Regions from separate parts of the Homo sapiens genome. Here region 2 is linked to region 1. Evidence: promoter capture Hi-C in human tissues and cell types (Jung and others, 2019). All regions are on one chromosome and are shown on one strand. The core of a region is centred on a gene start or on the middle of the fragment in contact, and the rest is flanking DNA. Distances in the headings are between cores, read along the strand shown.

What was found. The method cuts DNA at HindIII sites, captures the fragments that hold promoters and counts their contacts. A contact is called where the count stands out against the background at its distance.
Region 2: a fragment that was not itself captured here is called in contact with the fragment with the promoter of FLT3 in region 1 in 1 of the 25 tissues and cell types used here (spleen).

The regions. Positions count from the first base shown.
Region 1 is chr13:28,098,991-28,104,200 of GRCh38, forward strand. FLT3 (fms related receptor tyrosine kinase 3) reads right to left here and starts at 1,586. Exons shown (of 24, transcript NM_004119.3): 1 at 1,478-1,586. The coding sequence starts at 1,520. RefSeq lists silencers at 1,420-1,579, 1,700-1,759 and an enhancer at 1,870-1,999. The HindIII fragment of the contact is 18,739 bases long and covers 1-5,210 here.
Region 2 is chr13:28,813,645-28,818,998 of GRCh38, forward strand. No RefSeq gene overlaps it. Among named protein-coding and RNA genes, the nearest start is that of MTUS2, 4.0 kb to the right of the region's middle. The HindIII fragment of the contact is 3,226 bases long and covers 1,754-4,979 here.

The sequences.
Region 1 (5,210 bases), core at 336-2,835:
TATATCTCAGTCTGATCGTGGTTATTTGGGCACGTACATATGTGAAAACTAATGAAATTGTACTCTTAAGATGTGTGCATATTTACTGTGTGCCAATTATACTTCATTTAGAAATATCTGGAGAGAGAGACATAGAAATTTCTGAATTCTTTCCTAAATAGAAAAGAATTCCATGCAGCTTAAATATCGTTGCAAGTATTGATGCTTATACCTTTAGAAAGCCCATTATGCTTCTGAAAAATGCACTTACTACTTAATATCATACATAATAGAAAGCTAACATTTTGTATTAACGGAATCTGGAAAACATATTGTACTACACATTTGAAATTACAGATTTACTAACTAGTAAAGATAACTATTTAAGAACTAAAATGTCTTTGTTTTTCAACTCTTTTCCCCCGATTTCCATTTTTTACTTTTTATATTTCAGAATTATTTGTAACAAAAGCTATTGGATATAATTCCTGCACTTCTATATTGCAAGCATTTTCTCTATTTACCACAGAGACTTCAAGTCCTAGCATTTCAGAGCTGAAGGGGACTCGGACGGACTCCCTCACTGCACAGATGAGGACGCGGAGGCCGGGGGAGGTGAGTGTCAGTCCCAAGGTTGCAGACCTAGGACAGGGACCGGAGCTGCCGGGCACCCAGAACTCTGTCGCCTTCAACCCAAATTCGATTCAGTCCTCTCATCTTTCCAAATAGAAAGCTGACGCGAACCGATGGGAAGATTTTTTTTTTCAATAACAACTATGCTACCCAGCAGATTCTTTGGGGACAGTCCTCGGAGTCCTTGAAAACCCCTTTGGGGTTTATGCCAGGATAAGAAGAGACTAGAAGAAAGGGACAGCTAGTATTTTAATATGTAAATCTGTTTGCATAATATTTCCTAGGTAAACTATTCGTTGATCCAACCAAAATTCGGCGGGGCTGGGGGGTATCGTTATTGAGGATGACTCGCTCTAGGGGAGAACGCGGACGCATTTTCCCATCAGAGTTCCCTCCATAAATCAAAACCTCAAAAGAAGAGTTAAAGACGACACCCAGGTGTCTACAGTATCCAAGGGCCGGGCCAGGAGAGGTCCTTGGCCACCTGGCGCCGAGTTCGCGGCCGCAGACTCCCACGGACGGCCCAGCACCCGAGCGCGCGGGCCGAGCTGCCCCAGACCCGGCGCAGCGCCTCGGCGAGGCCGTCTGCGAAGTCCGGGCCGCCACTCGGGACCGCGGCCCGAGCCAGAGGAGAGACTTCGGAGAAGAGGGAAGAGGACGCGGGGTGGGAAACGCCGGGGCCGCAGGCAAGTAGTGGGCGAGTCCGGAGGGCGCGAAAGAGGGGAGGGGCGCGGGAGGCAATGGAAGGAGCGAGCGCGGGGAGGAGCGAGGCGGCTGGGCCGGAGGAGGCGCGCGCCCGGGTCCACACTGCGGGGTGGGGGCTGAGGGACCGCGAGGGGCTGCGAGCGAGCGAGCGGGGCCTTACCGAGCAGCGGCAGCTGGCCGCCGTCGCGCGCCAACGCCGGCATGGCCTCCGGAGCCCGGGGTCCCCAGGCCGCGCCGGCCCAGCCCTGCGATGCCGCCTGGAGCGGCGCGCCTCGCGCTGCAGGTGGCTCTCTTAAGGATGCGCGTCACCGACCGCAAATTCCCTCGGACTGGTGCAAAGTGGAAGGGGGGAGGAACCCTCTCCCCAGAGGCAGGGACCGAGGCGGGAGCGGAGAGGTTGGGCAGAGCCGAGCAGCCGGTGCCTGGCGCAGCGCTGCAGCCGAGCCCACGTGCCCGCCGCGGTCCGCAGCCTGTGCTCGGCGGCCCCCGGGGCTCCCCGACTGCGGCGGGGAAGATTGGGCGCGGTCCCGCCGGAGAAGTTGCACTGGCTCCGCGGCTCTGCCGCCTTGCTGCCCCTGTGAGTCCCCGAACTCTGTCGTTTGGATCCGGGGCGTGGGGACTGCAGGGAGCCACAAACCACCCTCCTAGTGCGCTGGGATCTTTGAGGCCCTGAGAAAGGCGCTGAATCCGCTCGGCACGCTGGCAACTCCCGCCAGCGCACAGGCGAGCATTCCATTAAGAACCATTCCATTCTTAATTGTGGACTGATTTCCTTTGTCTCTGCCTCCATCTCCTAGGATGCTCAGGACCCAGTCAGCGGCGGGATCAAGAAAAACAGGCAGGGTTTCAATGTCAACCAAGGCAATTAGGGAGGTTAACAAACAGCCTTCAAAACAAAACACACAGAAAATACATCCCAGAGGATGTTGCGAATCATCCGCTCAATAGTTCTTGTTCTTCATCGCATAATTTTTCGAGTTGAAAATTATTATTATTTTCTTTGCAATAAGTTGAGGATTGGAAAGCTCTGGATGCCAGTTCTGGTTCTTCCCTTACTTAACTAGCCGTTTGACCTCCACAAACCTCTGTTTACTCATCGTAAAGGAAAGGGATGGACCAAATGGTTCATAATGTCTCTCCCAATTCTAGGAATTCCACGCTCTTAATTATTTTAATTATTTTCTAATAAAGCATGAAAATTGACTGTTTACTCTTGGCCATACAGTTCTTTTCCTTAGATGTTGTCTACAGTACAATAATTCTTTCCCCTAGGGTATGGCAGAAACTTTAGAAGTGTCTACCATGGTGCAGCCACTATGGAAAACACTATAGAGGTTTCTCAAAAAATTAAAAAAAATACGGTCCAACAATTCCATTTCTGGCCATGTAGCCAAAAGAATTGAAAGCAGGGTCTTGAAGAGATGTCTGTACACCCGTGTTGAAAGCAGCATTATTCACAGTAGTCAAAAGGCAGAAGTAACCCATGTCCACAACAGATGAATGATAAACAAAAATGCAGTATATACATACGACTGAGTATTTTTCAGCTTTAAAGAGGAGGGAAATTCTGATACAGCTAAAATATGGATGAATCTTGACATTATGCTAAGTGAAATAAGCTAGTCCCAAAAAATACAATACTGTATCCCATTACAAATTCATAAAGACAGAAAGTTAAATGGTGGTTACCATGGGCTGGGGGCAGGGGGAAATGGGGAGCCAGTGTTTAATGGATACAGAGTTTCAGTTTTGCAAGATGAGCAGAGTTCTGGAGACTGGTTGCACAACAATGTGAATGTACTTAACGCTACTAAACTGTACACTTAAAAATGGCTAAGGCTGGGTGCGGTGGCTCATGCCTGTAATCCTAGCACTTTGGGAGGCCGAGGTGGGCAGATCACCTGAGGTCAGCAGTTCGAGACCAGCCTAGCCAACATGGTGAAACCCCATCTCTACAAAAATGCAACAATTAGCCAGGCGTAGTGGCGCATGCCTGTAATCCCAGCTACCTGGGAGGTTGAGGCAGGAGAATCACTGGAACCCGGGAGGCAGAGGCTGCAGTGAGCTGAGATCACACCACTGCACTCCAGCCTGGGTGACAGAGTGAGACTCTGTCTCAAAAACAAAAACAAAAACAAAAAGTTAAGATGGTAAATTTTATGTATGTGTATTTTACCTCAATTTTAAATTTTTTAAGTTTTTGTGTAGCTGCTGGGGGTTTAAAAATTTTTTTAAAGAGTGTTGTGTCTACCTTAGGTCAGAAACAGAAGTGAAGGAAGATGGCCTGAAATAAGTGAAACATGAGGAGATAAAGCAATGAAACAGGCTGGTTATGGGGAGAAAAGCGAGCTTCCAATGGCCAAGACCTAACACACTACCTTCTATTTAAAGCTCAATTACTGTCTTAAAGGAAACTGATTGGCTGGGCGCTGTGGCTCATGCCTGCAATCCCAGCGCTTTGGGAGGCCAAAGCGGGTGGATCATTTGAGGTCAGGAGTTGGAGACCAGCCTGACCAACATGGTGAAACCCCATCTCTAACAAAAATACAAAAATTAGCTGGGCATGGTGGCACTGTAGTCGTAGCTACTTGGGAGGCTGAGGCAGGGGAATTGCTTGAACCCAGGAAGCAGATGTTGCAGTGAACTGAGATCATGCCACTGCACTCCAGCCTGGGCAACAGAGCAAGACTTGGTCTTCGCCGGGCGTAGTGGCTCATGCCTGTAATCCCAGCACTTTGGGAAGCTAAGGCAGGTGGATCACGAGGTCAGGAGTTCAAGACCAGCCTGGCAAAGATGGTGAAACCTGTCTCTACTAAAAATACAAAAAATTAGCCAGGCGTGGTGGCATACGCCTGTAATCCCAGCTACTCAGGAGGCTGAGGCAGAGAATTGCTTAAACTTGGGGAGCGGAGGTTGCAGTGAGCCAAGATCGCGCCACTACACTCCAGCCTGGGCGACAGAGGGAGATTCCGTCTCAAAAAAATAAATAAATAAAATGAAAAACTAAAAAAAAAATGAAACTGATTATTACAAATTTGCAGAACATCAGCTTGAGTGCAGCAGTATTCAGGATACAAAATCATAAAGATACTGCTGCTTTGTCCAAGAATCTTGGACACAAGGCAGAGATCTTCATGAAAAAGGGGGTTGGTGAGAGAGGAGAAGTTAGGAATGGTTTCTTTTTTTGAGACAGAGTCTTGCTCTGTCGCCCAGGCTAGAGTGCAGTGGCACGATCTAGGCTCACTACAACCTCCGCCTCCCGGGTTCAAGCGATTCTCCAGCCTCAGCCACCTGAGTAGCTGGGATTACAGGCACCCGCCACTGCGCCCAGCTAATTTTGTATTTTTAGTAGAGAAGGGTTTCACCATCTTGGCCAGGCTGGTCTCAAACTCCTGACCTCGTGATCCACCCTCCTTGGACTCCCAAAGTGCTGGGATTACAGGTGTGAGTCACCGCGGCCAGCCAGGAATGGTTTCTAGGAACACTTGATTTTCCGTGGAAATTGGTGGAAAAAATAATTCTAGAAGGAGCAAATCTTATAGACTGAAATATTTTGGAGTATGAGGTATAGGCTAACAGAAGGTGAAGTAATGCCCATGTTTTTCTGTGATGTGCCAAGAGTCATATCTAATATGAGAACTAATTTCTTCCTCACAGCAACACTTAAGGAAAGTAGCCTGAAATTGTCTAGAGTCCTGGATTACACGCCCAGGTATGCATGCCCAAGTATGAAATTTTGGTGTCAGAGTTCATGATAGGAATTCTGTAATAAAGAAACTCTTAAAGGGTCAAAAGCAACTAGAAGAAATGAGCTGAAACGGGAAATCGGAAAAGAGAAGAGTAAGTTTGTTTCTGGGTTGAATGGAGTGTCTAGTGCTAACTCTACGAAAGGA
Region 2 (5,354 bases), core at 2,117-4,616, 720 kb after region 1:
AGTAGGCCGCAAAGCAAGTGTATATCTATTTCAAAGAATTTGTATCAAAAAGACCATGTTTTCTGGCCACAATTAAATTAAATTAAAAATAGCAAAAAGATATCTAAAAAAGCCTCATGCATTTAGAAATTAACACACTTCTAAAATAATTCATGGGTCAAAGAAGAAATCACAACGGAAATTAAGAACTTTATAATTTAATGATATTGAAAGTACTGTAGCTAAAAATGTGTGGGAAATATATATGTGCAAAAAAAGACAGGAAATATATATGTGCAAAAAAAGATTGAAGAATCATGAGCTAAGTTTTCAATTTGGAAGTGAGAAAAAGAATAGAATAAGCCCAAAGAACATAGAATAAAGGAAAAAATAATAATCAGAACAGAAATTAGTAAACTTGTAAAGAAAATACAGTAGGGTCAACAAAGTCAAAAGCTGGTTCTTTAAAAAGACAAAAAGGAGACAAACTTCAGGCTTAATGAATTAAGAAAACAAATATTAAGAAAAAAGTCACATCTAAACAATATTAGAAAAAAATGGCTGTAACTATAGAAGTAGCAGGTATTTAAAACGAGTAAGAAAATACTATGAAGAGAGCACTGCAATGACGATATATATATATAAACAACTCCATGCTAGTTGTGAAGGATACAGAACTGTCCCTTAAAGGAAGGACTCGCCTCAGCTCTTGGCAATGCTGTGAGCAGATTGTCTTGGGCCGTCTACTCCTTGTGTTTGCCTCACCTGCAGAGAGCCCCCTCGCCCAAGAATACACCTTCCCTGGAAAGTCCATAGCCAATGGTGGATCTGGTAGGGACATAGAGACCTTAACCATTCAGCCCACCCTGGGACAATTCTGAATGAGTCCTACATGTAGCAGTGTGCATGTAAATGTTTAATAACGGGCTCCTTTAAGGAAAACATCCTGATTTGCAGTGTTTGCTAATTTCTGTGGTGAAAATACATCCTCCATAGATGGTTTCAAGCTACCAAAGTAGTATCACTAAATGTGAAGTTGGGAATAGATGCAAAATAGTACACTACTACATAGTATTTCCATCATACAGCTATGCCAGTGGTAAATAAACTCAACACTGGCCAGGGGGAGGTGGCTTACACCTGTAATCCCAGTACTTTGGGAGGCACAGGTGGGAGGATCGCTTGAGATCAGGAGTTCGGGAGCAGACTGAGCAATATAGCAAGACCCGGTCTCAATTAAAAAAAGAAAAACAAAAAAACCTCAACAGTGTACTTTACTGCTCATGTAGTAATTAGGGAAGGATGAGTTTTGAGTATTCACTTTGTTTTCAATAAATAAATGTAATTGTAGGTTTATATAATTTAATCTTTAATAATGGCTGTTTTAACAACCAATTCACAAAAATTTAACAAGTGATGCTCAGGAGCTGGTAGGAGCAGGCTCAGCACACCACTCTGTATGTGCTCCAGGACTTCTTGTGGTTAGGACAGCGGCTTTGTTGGACTTGAATCATGGTTCAAACTCTCCCTCTGTCCAATCCTGGCTCCCATCCCTTCCCAGAGGCCCTGACCCCTAATACCTACCTTGCTCTCTGGTACATCAGTTGGCTACCCAAGTGTTATTCATGACTTGCAAACGCCACTCTATTCTTTCTTCCTCAGGCTTTTCCCACTGGCATTTCATCATTTTGGAATTTCACAAGGCAGATGCCTCTGTTCTACCCACATGCTCCTCAGTCTAGTAAGGCCCTGGGAAAAGGCTCCAGCAGACACCTGTGCTGCCCTGCACATCTCCTTGGCTCCCTCTCAGCCATAGTTCTGATGGGTGCTCCCTGTGAGTTGACAATGTCTTATCTCAAGGATGCGGCTATGGGTCACTCTGATTCTCTGCCTAGAGCCTTTTCTAAAGCACTAGGCGCCTTTGGGAGTTAAAGCTCCACAGGCAATTCCAATCAATGGAGAACAGGAGCCCAGAGGGTAAATGCTCGGCCCTGTGTCTTTGAAATGACCATTGTAAGCTCCTCAGAGATCCAAGTGGTATTATGTCCTTGTGTGCCTGTTACATATAACAGTGGCCTTGAGAATATACTTTTAAGTTGCCTTTCATACTTCTCTGTCTTAACATCTCAATTTCATCATTCCTGCTTCCTGAGATCACCTTCAAAAATAAACTATCTAGCTGGGCGTGGTGGCTCACACCCGTAATCCCAGCAGGATTGAGAGGCTGAGGTGTGTGGATCACGAGGTGAGGAGTTCGAGACCATTCTGGCCAACGTGGTGAAACCCCATCTCTACTAAAAATACAAATATTAGCCGGGCACGGCGGCGGGCGCCTATAATCCCAGCTACTCAGGAGGCTGAGGAAGGAGAATAACTTGAAGCCGGGAGGTGGAGTTTGCAGTGAGCCGATATTGCACCACTGCACTTCAGTCTGGGCAACAGAGCAAGACTCTGCCTCAAAAAACAAACAAACAAACAAAAAACAATAACAATTAACTATCTGTATCCAAGTCATTCTACCAGTCTCTGCTTTGGGAAGGAATCTACACTACGATACTTGATACACTATGATACTTGCTGATCATATATATATATATATATATATATATATATATATATATATTTAATTCAAGAGAACATTCTACTCTTCCTTTCACAGCTTTTTTTTTTTTTAATTTAATTTGGCTGGGCGCGGTGGTTCATGCCTGTAATCCCAGTACTTTGGGAGGCTGAGGCGGGCGGATCACTTGGGGTCAGGAGTTCGAGAACAGCCTTGCCAACATGGTGAAAACCCATCTTAACTAAAAATACAAAAATTAGCCTGGATATGGTGGCATGCACCTGTAATCCCAGCTACTCGGGAGGCGGAGGCAGGATAATAACTTGAACCTGGAGGTGGAGGTTGTGGCGAGCTGAGATTGTGCCACTGCACTCCAGCCTGGGTGACAGAGTGAAACACCATCTCAAAAAAAATTAATTTTATTTTAGATTCAGGGGGTACATGTGCCTGTTTGTTACATGAGCATACTGGAGATTGGGCTTCTAGTGTACCCATTACCCAAACAGTGAACACTGTACCCCATAGGTAATTTTTCAGCTCTCGCCCCCTGCCCACCCTCCCCTCTTTTGGTGACCCAGTGTCTATTATTTCCATCTTTATGTCCATGTGTACTCATTGTTTAGCTCCCACTTATAAGTGAGAATGTGTGGTACTTGGTTTTCTGTTTCTGAATTACTTCACTTAGGATAATGGCCTCCAGCTCCAGCCCATGTCACTGCAAGAGACATGATTTCATTCTTTTTGATGGCTGCATAATATTCCATGATGCATTAATATATGGACCACATCTTCTTTATCCAGTCAACTGTTCATTGACATTCAGGTTGGCTCCATGATTTTGCCATTGTTCTTTTCACAGTTTCTAAATACAGCATAACCAACTGTTAAAATAAGACTTATCTTGGAATGCTGCCAGGTGGGCCAATAGATAACTATGACAGTTTGGGACCTCTGAAAAGCAGATGTCAAGATAGGATTAGATGTGCCAAAATATTTTAAAGAAAACACCTGTGCAGGATAGTGCAGGAGGGAGAAGGAGCCTGGCATGCAGGTGAGGAGTGCCTTCTGACTGCAATACAGGTCTGACACTTGTGAATGGAGAGAGGGAAGGGAAGAAGATTGGGTAGGAAGAGCTCCAGACTGCAGCACATTCTGAGAAAGCCCTGGTAGGGTGGTAGGAATTCCAGAGCAAAGACTGCCCACTAGAGGCAGAAAGGGCATAGCTCTAGCGCTCTCACCATGTTCCGTTGTGAGCTGGAAACAGCTGGGGAATGTGTGACCTTGGTATGAGCTCTGTGGTGGATCCAAATGTGTGACAGCTGAAGGCTGTCAGTTGCTCAAGCTTCCAAGATCTCAGGGGATCACCTCCCTCCATGCCACCACACAGATAGGTATCCCCACACATAAATCCATATAAATGGAGGTATTGGACCATCTTTGTAGGATTTGCTAAGTTGGGGTTCTGCCACCTTCAGACCAAATTGAAGGAAAGGAGAGAGCAATCAAGGGAGAAGATGAGAACGACACGGTGCTGACAGGGAGAAGGAGGACCCACCCACTTCATGCAAAGAAAGGCATGCTTCCAAAGAACTACTTGGAGAGCCTGGCATGTGTCACCTGGAGTGTGGGGACATGCATGAACCCAGAGATGGCTGAGAAGCTTCAAGGAAAGAGGCCGGTCAGAGTTACCTGTGACCAGAGAAGAAGAAAAGAGAACTGCAGTGACAGTGGCCTGCACTTCTATAGCGTGATGGGCCAAATGCCAGTTGGTGTCCGTGGGTCAGCACGCACGTGGTGGAAGGTAGCTGGGACTGACTGCCAGGGCATGGTGCCTTGCAGAGGGCCTGAATGAGGCTGACCACCAGTGAAGCTGAGGCTGAAGTTGCAGGGTCAGAACCCCACCCTGCCCAACTTGAGAAACCAGTGTTTTTTTTTTTTTTGAAACGGATCTCGCTCTGTCGCCAGGCTGGAGTGCAGTGGAGCGATCTCCGTGAACTGCAACCTCCACCTCCCGGGTTCAAGCGATTCTCCTGCCTCAGCCTCCGAGTAGAGGAGCCTAGAGGCATGTGGCACCATGTCCAGCTAAACTTTTTGTATTTTTCATAGAGACGGGGTTTCACCACGTTGGCCAGGATGGTCTCGATCTCTTGACCTCGTGATTCATCCACCTCGGCCTCCCAAAGTGCTGAGATTATAGGCGTGAGCCACCGCATCCGGCTTCTTTTTTTGACAGAGGCTTGCTCTGTCGCCCAGTTGGAGTGCAGTGGCATGATCTCGGCTCATTGCAACTTCCACCTCCCAGGTTCAAGCAATTCTCCTGAGGAGATGGAATTGCAGGTGCACGCCACCACACCCAGCTAATTTTTGTATTTTTAGTAGAGACAGGGTTTCACCATGTTGGCCAGGCTGGTCTCGAACTCCTGACCTCAAGTAATCCACCGGCCTCAGCCTCCCAAAGTGCTGGGATTACAAGCGTGAGCCTCCGTGCCCGGCGGTGGAACCCGTCTTCACAGAGCTAGCTGGGGAGAACACAGAAGCAGGAAGCGAAGGTCGTTTTCCTCCTCCTTGCAGGCTTCTGAGCTTGGGTCAGGTTGGGGTCTGGTGGGTGGTGGGAGGCTAGTGGGGAAGGCTTGAATGGATTGCGATTAAAGTTTTGATTTGGATTGGGCTGGACTTTTTATTATCAGCAAATCTGACTGTTTATGAACACCTGAAAGTGACAGGAAAAGCTATGAAATTTGCCCCAGATTCTTCCAGGGGAGAAGGGAGAGCTTCTGGAATAATTTTTAAAGACAGTGGTCTGAAAAAAAAAAGT